2 separate regions of the Homo sapiens genome follow, and region 1 is linked to region 2. Evidence: promoter capture Hi-C in 16 types of primary human blood cells and fetal thymus (Javierre and others, 2016). All regions are on one chromosome and are shown on one strand. Each heading gives the region's core, a stretch centred on a gene start or on the middle of the fragment in contact. The rest is flanking DNA. Distances are from core to core; before and after follow the strand shown. Region 1 overlaps TRIM35 (tripartite motif containing 35). Region 2 holds the start of EPHX2 (epoxide hydrolase 2).

Region 1 (6,888 bases), core at 2,914-5,413, 190 kb after region 2:
GCAGGTGGTTAACTGAACATCTACTTTGTGCAGGGACTTGGACATGCAGGGGACAAAACAAAGTCTCTCACCTTGCAGAGCAAGCATTCCTTCTGCAGAAGTGTACCGAGCACCACTATGCAAGGTAGAGAGGACCTGGAGGTTAAGACCTGCCCTCAGGAAAGAGAAGCTATTACCCTGGATAGTGAGTGCTGAGACAGAGGTGGCCAGGGTGCTGTGATGCCCTGGAATGGAACCTGAGCTGGCAAGATCGGGGGGCTTCCTGGAGGAAATGAGGGGTACTAGAGCCGAGTTTTCAAGGTGATGTTGGGTTAGTTGGGGGAAGCAGGTGGGAACCAGGCAGAGCAACAGTGTGTATCAAGTCTCACAAGACAGAAAACCTGGCTCAGGCCAGACAGAGCTGGTTTCACATGCAACTCTAGCACTTTGGTAAGTCCTTGCAAAGAGGCTATGAAGACCTTGTGCAATGAAATTCATTCTTTCCCTTGCCCCTACCTTCCTGCTTCCAGCTATACCACAGAGCACCTGTCCTGTTAATGAAAATTGTGGGTAACGTGATTTTGTAAAGTGCTTAAGATCTTCAATATGCAATTGAAATTTGTTGCTTAAGGAATCAACTTGTCATTTTTGGGAAATCATGTAGTCTATATGATCACATTCTGGATCCTTTAGTATGAATAAAAACCTATTTTGTGTGTGTTTATAACTAATCTTTAACGTAGGCTGGACGCGGTGGCTCATGCCTGTAATCCCAGCATTTTGGGATGCCGAGGCGGGCGGATCACCTGAGATCAGGAGTTCAAGACCAGCCTGGCCAACATGGTGAAACCCTGTCTCTACTAAAAATACAAAAATTAGTTGGGCATGGCGGCAGGCACTTGTAATCCTAGCTACTTGGGAGGCTGAGGCAAGAGAATTGCTTGAATCTGGGAGACAGAGGTTGCAGTGAGCCGAGATTGCGCCACTGCACTCTAGCCTGGACAAGAAGAATGAGACTCTATCTCAAAAAAGTAAAAAATATAAAATAAATAAATAAAAAATCTTAATGTTATAATGTGATGCTAACATCGAAGCTTGTTTGCTCTCCTGAGCTTGGGCTGGGGGATGCTCCAGATCTGTTGTGGGCCCCTGCTACTGCCCATCTCTGCTCATTCATGTGCTCCTTGGGCTACAGGCAGGCCCCTTGAGTGGTAGTTCTATTTGTAATCTAAGCATATTTAGGGTTAAAATTAATACCAAAAGCAAACAAAATAATATTGTTTAGATGCATTCAAATTCACACTTCTTACATGTCATATTTCCTAGGTGAACCACTAGATGCACAGAAGGGGAAAATGGAATAAAAAATGTGTAGTAAATTTTAAAAAAGGAAAGGAAGAAAAAGAAAAATAGAATAAGCAAGACAAATAGCTCAGAACAAGGTGGCAGATTTAAATGCAAACATATCGGTAATTATGTGTTAAATACTCCAGTTAAATGAAAATGTTGATCTGACTGGATAAGAAAACGAAACCTAATTCTGTGTTGCTTAATATAATTATCTCAGTGAGAAAACATTTGATAAAATTTACCATCTTTTTGTGTTTAAAAAAACAGGAAACTAGAAATGGAAGGAATTTCATTAGTTTGATTAAGTATATCTAGCAAAAAAACTTACAGCAAATATCACATTTAATGGCAAAACATTGAAAGCTTTCTTATTGAGATCAAGAAAAAGACAGGAATGCGCATTATGACCAACTCTATTCAGTTTTGTGTGGGATAGCCTTGTCAATGAAGTAAGCCAATAATTATAAATAAAAGATGTAAGGTTTGGAAAGAAGGGAAGCAAAACTGGCATGTGTAGATAATATGGTTGCATATTTTTGCACTGAGATTTCTATGTGTAGAAAATAAAGATTCTACAGTTAAATCATAAGTATTAATAAGTTTAGGTGAATGCTGAATCCAAAATCAAGATGCAAAACCAGTTGTATTTCTATGTATCACTAGCAAATAGAAAATAAAATATAGGCAGGGAGTTTTACACCTGTAATCCCAGCACTTTGGGAGGCTGAGGCAGGAGGATCGTTTGAGCCAAGGAGTTTCAGACCAGCTTGCACAACATAGTCCAGCCTGTCTCTACAAAAAGTTAAAACAAATTAGCCAGGTGTGGTGGTGCATGCTTGTAGTCCCAGCTACTTGGGAGGCTGAGGTGGTGGGAGGATCACTTGAGCACAGGAGGCTGCAGTGAGCTATGATTGTGCTACTACTGCACTGCAGCCTGGGTGACAGAGGGGGACCCTGTTTTGGGTTTTTTTAATTTAAAAATATGTTTACAATAATATAAAAAATAAGATAACTAGGAAGAAATTAATAAAAGATACGCAAAACTCTGATAGGGAAAAATATACTTCGTTGAGAGCTATCAAAGAACATTAAGTAACTGGTGTGATATATTATGTTCGTGGATTAGTAAAGTCAGTATTTAAGCCTTTCAGTTTTCCCCAAATTGATCTATAGAGACAATATTGTACTAATCTAAATCTCAACATGATTATTTTTATGCAACTTCACAGATTCTAAAATTTATATGACCCTCAAAGGGCCAAAAATTGCCAAGACATTCTTGAAGAGAAACCTATCAGAAATCCTCTCTTTTTTACAGCTATAGAAATTATGGCTGTGTGATGTTGGCACAAGGATAAACAGATGGGCCAGAGAAACAGATGGAGAGAACCAAAAAACAGATCTGTGTCTGATTTAAGACAGAGGTGGCTCTGCAGACCAGTGGGCAGTAATGGTCTTTTTAAATAATGGTGCTGAGACAATGAGCTACCTGGTCACACCATGTGCAAAAATAAACTCCAGGTATCCACATCAGACCTAAATGTGAAAGGAAAGCTATAAAGCTTTGAGAAAATACTACAGAGCTATACAATAATAATGCAAAGCTATAAAGCTTTGAGGAAATAATACGATTGTTTTTGTGATCTCAGTGTAGGGAGGTGTTTCTTAAAACTAGTATACTAATCCTAAAGGAAAAGACTAATAAATTTGGCCATATTTCAATTAAGAAAGATAAATGATGAAGTAGAAAATATTCATTACACCTCTAACTAATCAAGGACATACATTGTGTATATATAATAAATTCCCACAAACCAGTTAGGAAAATGGCAGGCAACGCAATGGAAAAATGGACAATACTTTACTGAGTACTTAAAAATAAACATTGAAGTGGTCAATAAACATTTTCTATTAACATTGCTCTTGCTGTAAAAATTGGTACCACTGCTTTGGAAAACAATTTGGCATTACGCAGTAAAGTGAAGACACATATGGTGGCCCAGCAGTTTTATCCCCAGGAATATATTATGAAGAAACGAGTTCCCATGTGTCCCCAGGAGACATGTACAAGAAGGTTACCTCCTCTGGGTCTAACTTGATCCTCTGTATAATGGGACTCACAGTGCTTAACCTTATAGGGAGAATTCGAATTAAATAATTGAATTAAATAGAATGTTTGTAAAGTGCATAATTTAGTGCCTTGTGTCTAGTACATGCTTAATAGTAACTGCTTGCTAGCAATAGTAATATAATTGTTGGTTAGTCTCATCAGCTGACATCTCAGAGAAGGGCCATTTTAGGATTGGTCTTTTCTGAAGGAAACCAGAACTCTCCAAGTGATTGAAAAGTTTGAGAAGATCAAGGGACTATCCCCTTCCCATCCTTATTGTCCCATAAATTCCTAAGGGCCAGGGTTGAAGGGCAGGGGCTGAACTGTGTTGTTTTGGGGCCTGCACACCTTTGGGTAATGCGTATGGACAGCTGCTTCACTCCTGTCACTTAACTAATTTGGCAAATCACTAAATTTTCCTTTTGAACTGTATTACATGATTTTGTATCAAAAATCTCATTCTATAAAATAAAACATTGGAATGACATTTCAGTGGTTTTGTGGGGGCACTCATGCAAATTAGAGATGATATACTACAGAAAACAAAGTTTAAAAATCTTAAATATTGTCACTTAAGATTAAAAGATCAAAATGAGTTGAAAATAAAACAGAACTGCAGAAAATGAAATCAGTAACCATTTTGTTTTCTGTAGTGAAAGACTTAAAGGAATGGGCTACTGAGTGGGACAAATGGGCTAGTTCTCTATTTCCTAGCAAATTGCCCCAAAACTTAGTGCCTTAAAACAAACATTAATTATCTTTGAGTTTCTTTGGGTCAGGAATTGGGCCTGCCTTAGCTCTGGGTGCCTCTGCCTCAAGGTGTCTCATGAGGGGCTGCAGTCAGGGTTCTGTGGGCTAGTTCTAACCAATGGGCTAGTTCTCTATTTCCTAGCAAATTGCCCAAAACTTAGTGCCTTAAAACAAACATTTATTATCTTTGAGTTTCTGTGGGTCAGGAATTGGGCCTGCCTTAGCTCTGGGTGCCTCTGCCTCAAGGTCTGTCATGAGGGGCTGTAGGTATGGAGCTGTGGTCTCATCTGAAGGCTCAGCTAGGGCAGGATCCTTATTTACACTCACATTTGTAGTTGTTGGCAGGATTCAGGTCTTCACGGGCTGTTAGCCTGAGAGCCTGAGTCCCTCACTGGCTGTAGGTCAGAAGCCACTCTCAGTTTCTTGCCCCAGCAGTCACTCCCAGGGCAAATTACCACATGGGCAGCTGGCTACCATCCCAGTGAGCAAGCTAGAGAGAGGAAGGCAGGGTGTACACAGCCTTTGTCGCCTAACCTCAGAGGTGACTTAGTATCACTTGCCACATTCTTTTGGTTAGAAACAAGTCACCCACAGAGGAGGGGATTTCACAAGAGCATGAGTATCAGGAGGTGAGGGTCACTGGGGCCACTTTAGAGGCTGCCTGCCTGAATCTGTCCTTTGCCCCATAAGGAGTCATGTCCCTCCCACATGCAAAATGCACTGGCCCTCTCCCAAGCTCTCCAAACATCTCATCCCTTTACAGCATCAGCCCAAAGTCCAGATTTGTCATCTAAATCAGGTCCAGATGGGAATGAGGCTTTGGGCGACACATCTGTATAATTTATTGCTGCATATCCAGTCACCCCGACATTTAGCAGCTTAAAACACTCTCATCTCACAGGAGGGAGGGATCACTGGGTGCTGTCTCAGCAGCTGCCTCCATAGCTGTCCAGGTTCACGTCCTTCCACATACTAGCTGTGTGCCCTTGGGCTGGTCATTTCCCTTCTGTGCCTCACTTTCTCATCTATAAATGGGGCCAATAATATTACTTATCTACTAGGGAGAAGTAATGATTAAATGACATAATTTCTCAAGTAATTGGTGTTGTCCCTGGCACAGAGTAAGTACTGAATAAATGATAACCATTTATAATTATTTGAATTATTTTTCTTAAGAAAAAACTTGAGAAGCTTTCTGAGAATGTAGATCGAAAAGGATAATGAGGGAGAAAAAATGATAGGCCTAAGATACAAGAGGCAGGAATCCAACCTAAAACACTCTAGTGGTTCTTCAAGTTGTCCAAGGACATCAGAAACAATCATTAAAGTTTAAGAAACAAAAACTACTAAACCAAAAGTATTTGTGCCTGCTGATTAAAGTATTCCGTGCGATACAAGCAGTGTTAGAATGTCAGGATGCAGGAGGGGTATGGAGGGGCATGTTGGGCATGTTGAGGTGAGGCCTCATGGGAGGTAACTGAACCCCGTGGGAAATGACTGGCTCCACCCCCATTGTCAGTCACCTCACATTAGAGATTGCAGACCCATTCAGTTTAGGAAACTGCAGAGGGAACCTATGACCACACTGTCTGCAGTTGTCCACACAGCTCAGGGATTCAGACCCAGCATGAACCAGCTTTTGGCCCACATGGGACACTCTTCTGGCCTGTGCTGTGACCAACATGAGAGAGAGCAGCTTGCTTCTTCTCAGCCCCATCTCCCAGTCTGTACCAGGCTGGGCTACAGGATGTCTGAGGGCTCTTTATCCCATGGATGTCTGATTCAGGATCAGGACCTTACTTACCATTTGTGCCCAGAGCACTTGGCATGGATGGGGTTAGGCAAATGCAGTTGAGTTACACTTGTGTTGAAGTGGAGTCCCAGTTGTAAATGTGATGTGTCTGCCCTCTCTGCCCAGCCTCCAGCCCTAACCTGTCTTCCTCCCTCTCTCTCATTCCCATGTCAGGCCAAGTGCAGGAACATGGAGCATGCACTGCGGGAGAAGGCCAAGGCCTTCTGGGCCATGCGGCGCTCCTATGAGGCCATCGCCAAGCACAATCAGGTGAGCGAACGATGGGGCCAAGTGGGAAGATTGGGTCCACTCAGGGCAGTCTGGGGAGGAGTGAAGATGTGTCAGCCGTGGCTTTGGCTCACATAACCCGCTGGGTAGAGGTCGGCTGCCTTACCTCTGATGGTCCTGTGCAGCCACGTCCTGGATGCTGACTGTGGCTTCTCTGCCTTGGCCCCTCTAAAGACCCAGGCGTGGTCATGCCAGCAGCCACAGGAGTGACTTAAAAAGCTACCAACACCATCTGCACTATGGCACATGCATCATATCACTGCCACCTGTGTGTTCAATGATGACCTGGGACTCATGTACTTTCTTGTTTTCTTTCAGTTCCCACATCCACTCCATCAGCAATCCTATTCCCCTATCTCCAAAGTATGTTATTTCTGTAAAACCCTCCACCTTTTGGTCCAGGTCATCATCATCTCTCACTGGGCCTCCTGCCTAGGGCCTCATGCTTTCATTCTTGTGCATTCTCCTTTCCATGGACTGGGGTGATCGTTTAGAAAAAAACACCAGCCGTGCCCCTCCTCTGCTTAAAACTGCCAGTGGCTTCCAGTCACCCTCAGTACCACCCAGATTCCTTACCATGGCCTCCAAGGCCATCTCCTGACCCTGCCTATCCTCAACC
Region 2 (6,602 bases), core at 86-2,585:
CCGACAGGAACCAACTCTGGACACAACTATAGCCTCCAACTCCTGGGCTCAGGCAATCCTTCTGCCTTAGCCTCCCAAGTAGCTGGGGCTACATGCATGCACTAATGTCTAGCTAATTTTATTTTTATTTTTGGAGAGACAGGGTCTTGCTCTTTCACCCAGGCTGGTCTTGAACTCTCAGCCTCAAGTGATCCTCCCACCTTAGCTTCCCAAAGCACAGAGATTACATGCCTTTCCCTCAAGCTACTTGCCATCTCATCTTCCTTACTATATTAAAAGCAAAGGCTCCGGACATGGACTACTGGGGTTGGATTTCTGGCTCTGCTCTTTAACAGCTATGTGATTTGGACAGCTGGTTTCTTTCTGTGCCTCAGTTTCCTCATATGTAAAAGGAGGATATGAACAATGGCTTCCATGCCTGGCCTTCTTTTTCACTTTATAAATAAGTATACTTCTCTCCTTTCTGAATGTGGGAATAATACATTGTTTATAAATTTAGAAGTTGGAAACTACAAAAAAAAAAAACACAAAAAAAAGAGAGAGAGAAAGAAAATCATTACATTATTCCTAATCTCATTTGATGTACTTTGGCCTATTTCTTTCAGGCACTTTTCTGCATGTACCTTTTTTCCATAGCTGAAACCATATTGTATAAATAGCTTCAGATTCTGGTGGGGTGGTTTTTTCATGTAGTAGAACAGGTGTTTTCCCAAGTCCCTGAGCTCTCACTCTGCACACCCCATCTACCATTTCCCAGTGATGTGGCTTTGGGCGGTTGCTGCAGTTTGCTATTACACAAGTAAGCATGCAACCCACACCTGGGGAGAGAACTTTCTTCTCTCCTGAATCTCGGCTCGCATCTTTAAGCGCCACCCCATTAGACAGGAGGCAGCAGAAGCACAAAGCTCCATGAGTAACTCCTCTCCCTTTTGGAAAAGTTCACAGAAAGCAATTTTGGAGACCTTGGCAACGTTTAATTATGAACATTTAGAAAGACAACGGATCTCCTCATATGCACTGGGACTTCAGGGCCAGGTCTTCAGTTTCATGATTCGCATGATTCGCAGGGCTCCGGCACAGGAGCAATCTGAAAGCTGGGCTGCAAGCCCAGCGCGGTCTGCCTCCTGAGGCCCCGACCCACTGCGGCGGCGGCGCTGGGCCCCCTTACCTGGGCAGCGCCAGGGCCTCCTCCGTGCGGCCGAGGACGCCGAACACCGCTGGCAGCGCCAGCACCCCGTCAAGGTCGAAGACGGCCGCGCGCAGCGTCATGGCGGCGGGTCTGCAGCCTAGCACCCGGACACGCAGCTAACCTGGGAGATGCGCGAAGGCCAGGGCGCATGACCCGCCCAGCTTGGCCCGGCTCTGCCCCGCCCCTGCCCTGGCCCCGCCTCCTCCCCACACCCCCTTAACGGGACTCCGCCCTCTGCCCGGGTTAAGGCTGGACTCTGGCCGGGAAAGAGGCAGGGGGAGGGGCACAGGAAAGGGAGTCAGAGGGAGAGGAAGAGGAGGCCGGGAAGGCGGGGACCCCAGGCTAGAATCTCGCCTCTGGATGTAACGCTTTCTACTGTCTCAAAGGAAAGTCCAAAGTCTCTTATGCCCCCTCCCCACGCCCCTGCAGTAGCTGCTTGAAGAGGCAAACCCAGGCCCGGGCCTTCCTGGACGGACTGACAGCTCCCTGCGAACTTGCTGGACTTGGAATGCCTGGGAAAGAGGCCACAGACTCTGTGTGTGTGTGTGTGTGTGTGTGTGTGTGTGTGTGTGTGTGTGTGTGTGTGTGTCAGCACATCCAGTGACTTCTACATTCAGAACATAAGACCGTGTTGGGGGGCGGGGGAGGGGCATATCCAGTGACTTTTCTAGATTCAGAACGAAGGATCACAGATCCCTCACTATCCTGACCACTCCTCTAGGCACGCTCTTCTTTGCCAAGGCAAATGTGTTTCTAGAATAAAATATGATGTTCCAGCTATCGTGTGCCAGCCCAGAATACTTCGATTTCAATCTCTTGTGGAATGAAGCTTAGAAGAACTAAATGTAGGCTATTATTTTCCTTTTGTACATGCTACTTGTAATAATTCTGTCTTAAAATGTGCGAGGTTTGTTTTTAATCACCGATTTCCACACTATTGGCTCGTTTATGTTCCTAGAAAAACTAAAACTTTGGCTGGGAGTTCTTGAGCTGTTGTAGTGCAGCTCCATGAATTAAAAACCGTGTCTTTGGTGGAGACCAAACAGAGTGAGTGAGGTCTCCAACAGTGGAGAATTTACTCTTGAATGTGTCTCTGTGGATTTATCCAAGATACCCTCCACCACGGAGCTTCAAGAACCTTGTGAGGGGTTGTCAGATACCTCACTGTAACTGGGAGGTCTACAACAGTCTCTGGATCTAGCAATCAACAACAGGATTGACCAGAGCCGTGGGTTTCCTCTGGGCTGTTTGCCCTTAGCAAGCTATGCTGTTGCTTCCTTCTCTAGCTTGGTAACCTCTTCCAGGCTCCTGCCTGGAGCAGTTATTAGTGTTTTCTGAGATTCTTGCCAAAGAAGCAGAGAGTGGCCAACACTGCCAAATGTTACAGGAAGAACTGAAAAAAAAGCTGTCCAATTTTGGACTTGGATGACACCGGATGTTTCAGAACACTTTTTGTGGGCCCTTTATGGTAGAAACTGGATTACTCTGGATTTGAAGACTGAAAGATAGGCAGAGAAGGGAGTACAGCAAGCTAGTTTCTCATGAAGTTAGTTGATCTCAAAGGTATAATTGAATTTTAAAAAATAGAAAGAAAATTGCAGCCTGACCTATATAGTATGAAACCTGTTAAATCTCCAGATTGGGCATGGTGGCACACACCTGTAATCCCAGCACTTTGGGGCTGAGGTGGGAGAATTGCTTGAGGCCAGGAGTTTGAGACAAGCCTGGGCAACAAAGCAAGACATTCTCTCTATAAAAAATAAAAATAAAATATTAGCTAGGCATGGTGGTGCATGCCAGTAGTCTCTGCTATTCAGGAGGCTGAGGTGGGACGATCACTTTAGCCCAGGAAGTGGAGGCTGCAGTGAGCCATGATTGTGCCACTGCACTCCATCCAGCCTGGGTGACACAGCAAGACTCTACCTCCAAAAAAAAAAAAGAAAGAAATTAAATCTCCAACTTAGAGTTTCCTTTGGGCTCCAGACTTGCCAACTTCTTACTCAACATCTTACTCAACGTCAATATCCAACTTCTTACTGAACATCTTCTCTTGAGTGTCTAACAGGCATCTCAAATTTATCATGGCTAAAACAGAACTCTCTCTGCATTTCTACTTCCCACGCCTGTTCCTCCTAGTGTGTTCCCTATCTTACAAACTGGCATCCCCATTGACTCAGTGGCTCAGTCCCGAGACCACGGAGTTGCTTCCAGATCCTTGGCTCCCAGCCAAACCATATGTTCGTGTTTCTAGCGGTGGCCTGCTGATTGAGGCAGAGATAGCAGCTTCTAGTTCTATGGTGGTGTTTTCTGGGAGTCCTTCCTAAAGGCTCAGTCTGGAGCTCACTCCTCCATTCCGTTCAAAGATTGTGTAGGCTTGCAGTCTCTCATCTTAAATCCCTTTCTTCTGTTTCTATTTAAAATAACTACAGTGATTTCTGTTGCCTGCATCTGAATTCTGCATCTAGCACAGTATTGCTTATGAATACGTAAGTATATTTATACAAGCAGTAAAGTGTAGAGGAACGACATACCTACAGAACTAGATTTCATAAAGCCCCCTTTTGAGAAGAAAAATTTAAAAACATAGAAATATGAGTTTTACTTTCCTCTTTGGTTAAGAGAAAGCCATGAAGCTATCACATGGACTTTTATTTATTCAGGAGCAGTTAACTTGTAAATAGCTCTGGTGTGGAATATTTTTATAATGCCTTGTGAGTTACAGAGCTTTCTGGCTGAATTGCTTAGGCAAAGATTAAAGGTCTCAATTGCATTTCACTGCACTTTGCCCTTTTTCATGGTCGTGCTTCTCCTGTGTTTTCTGCTACTAAGGTACAGAGAGATAAGGGCTTACCCAGCAGGGCTATGGGAACTGGGTGGCTTTTTGAAATGTAAATCCTAACCCCTATGTCTTCTAATTTTAATATTTATGAAATATGTTTTAGGTGATAGCATGAATCATAAAAGATGGCTAATGTAGTAGTGAAAATTTATAAATTACACCTGATTTCAATCACTAAATTCATAATGAATGTACACTGACCTCATTAAGGTTTATTTTGGGTTTTCTGCCATTCCTGTGCCTTCTGCAACTTCCTGCTAGTCCTTGATTGTCAAACCCTATTTTATAAAATCTGTTTAACCACTAGGGGTTGGGAGGGAGGACTTTACACTGCTGCTTCTCTCTACTGTAGATACTCATGGAGTTCAAAGTAAAGCTACCTCTGGCAGTTTTCTAAACCTACAAACCACTTGAAGTTTTGTCTTTTTTTCAATGCGGCAAATGAACGAGCGTCTTTCATTCCATCAGCAAATATGTATCAAGCATCTTCTATGTGCCAGGCACTGTTCTAGGCACTTGGGATCAATTGTTAAATAAATCAGACAAATATAGGGGCCGTCAAGGATCTTCCATTTTAGTGGAATAATGAATTCAAATGGTAGTGGCTGGTGGCTTCTGGAGCAGTGAGAAGAATGAGATTGGGAATAGTGGTGGTGGCTACTTGCCGTTTTTCTTATTTGTCATTTTCCAGCTTCCTAACATCTATAACCTTTTCTTACATACAGAAAATTCCAGCCGGGCATGGTGGCTCACACCTGTAATCACAGCACTTTGGGAGGCTGAGGTGGGTGGATCACCTGAGGTTAAGAGTTGGAGACCAGCCTGGCCAACATGGGGAAACCCCGTCTCTATTAAAAATACGAAACTTATCTGGGCGTGGTGGCACACACCTGTAATCCCAGCTACTTGGGAAGCTGAAGCAGGAGAATTGCTTGAACCCGGGAGGCAGAGGTTGCAGTAAGCCAAGATCATGCCACTGCACTCGCAGCCTGGGCAACAGAGCAAGACTCTGTCAAAAGAAAGAAAAGAAAAGAGAAGAGAAGAGAAGAGAAAAGAGAAGAGAAGAGAAGAGAAGAGAAGAGAAGAGAAGAGTAGAGTAGAGAAGAAGAGAAAATTCCATCTGGCAGTGATGAAGTTCTGCTTCAGAGATACACAACATCCTTTCAACATCTTCTATTTTGATAGTTCTCACTGTTTGAGAACTACTACTGTTTTGAGTTCTACCTTCTCACAGTAGAATCCACAAACAACATGTTGCCCAGGCTTCCTTAATGCTGGCCAGGTGCACGGGCTCTGCCAATTGGGCATACTCGCCAGGGATTTGGGAATGGGGATGGGCAGCCCAAAGCCACAGCTGTGTGAGCGGGAACTTTCTTTCAGCGAAGGCAGAAGCAGCAGCATCTAGTTTTTCTGGGGAGGCTGTGATGGAGCTTCTCTGGTCTGGTCCTGAGTGTACTTGGTGCCCACGCTGGGGCAGAGTGGTGGCTTTGTTAAAATTGCACCAAGGGGTGGCCTGCGGTCACTGTGCTGTTCTTGGCTATATAGTTTCCAAAGCTGCATCTCTTGTCCTCCCTGAGATTCTGTGTGTTAATGTCCTATAATAAGAACCTTTCTGCTTATATGACCGAGAGGAAGCTCTGTAGTTTGTAATAAAAACCCTATAACGCATACCGGCCTTATGAATGTTGATAGAAGGAAGAACCGCATTGACTGCAGAATTTGGAAATGCCCTGTGCCCACTCCCCAGCCTGCCTGGAAGTGAGAGTGAAGGCCTGTGAGCTCCATTCAGCAACTCAGGTGCACCAACCCAGCCCTTACAGTGGGAGCAGGTGAAGGAAACAGGCCAGAGGAGAAGGGTGTCGGTCGGCAGTTTCAAGGGCAGCAGCAGCAGCGGCCAGGGTCCCTGGCTGGCAGGGACGGTGCAGGCCCCGAGGCCCTCAGCGCCCAACTGCAGCAGTGGTGTCTTCACAAGTCCAGTTCTGTGCTATGAGTTTGGCAATGACCTTGCTCTTGTTTTCCAGGCTTAGTTCTCCAAGCTCCCAAGGGCCCTCACTGATATCCTGCCCTCAAATTCTGTGCTTAAGTCAGCCAGAGTAGGCACTTCTCACTCTTCACCAACTCCAAAAACCCTTCTACTGTGCCATCTGGAACTTTCTGGAACTTGGTTTTATTATCAGCATAATTCACCATTTCCTCAACCTCTTTTCCATTCTCTTCCCCTCCTGCTGTACCCGAAACCTGGCTCTCCCCTGAGGAAACTGCTTTCTTTTTTTTCTTTTTTTTTGAGATGGGGTCTCACTCTGTTGCCCAGGCTGGAGTGCACTGGCATGATCCTAGCTCACTATTGAGAGCAGCAGGAGGCAGCCAAATGCCTGGGCAAATAGGGGCAGGTCCCTGGTGAAGCCCCACCTCCAAGCCGAAGACAGTTTAAAGCCTGAACACCAAACTACAAGTTAAATCCCCAGATCGGATGGAGAATTCGTCTTCCTGTTTGGCACACTTTCCTCAGATTGTTCCCACCCTGCACCTATTTGACATATACCTAACCTTTCCTAATTTGTTTTCTGCATTGTC

The links. The method cuts DNA at HindIII sites, captures the fragments that hold promoters and counts their contacts. A CHiCAGO score of 5 or more calls a contact.
Region 1: a contact is called between a fragment that was not itself captured here and the fragment with the promoter of EPHX2 in region 2, in 1 of 17 cell types (monocytes). The highest score is 5.2, in monocytes.

What each region holds. Positions count from the first base shown.
Region 1 is chr8:27,297,827-27,304,714 of GRCh38, reverse strand. TRIM35 (tripartite motif containing 35) reads left to right here. Exons shown (of 6, transcript NM_171982.5): 2 at 6,156-6,251. Among named protein-coding and RNA genes, the nearest start is that of TRIM35, 10 kb to the left of the region's middle. The HindIII fragment of the contact is 2,439 bases long and covers 2,944-5,382 here.
Region 2 is chr8:27,485,876-27,492,477 of GRCh38, reverse strand. EPHX2 (epoxide hydrolase 2) reads right to left here and starts at 1,335. Exons shown (of 19, transcript NM_001979.6): 1 at 1,169-1,335. The coding sequence starts at 1,269. RefSeq lists a silencer at 1,252-1,531 and a cis regulatory region at 3,278-3,592. The HindIII fragment of the contact is 2,149 bases long and covers 1-2,020 here.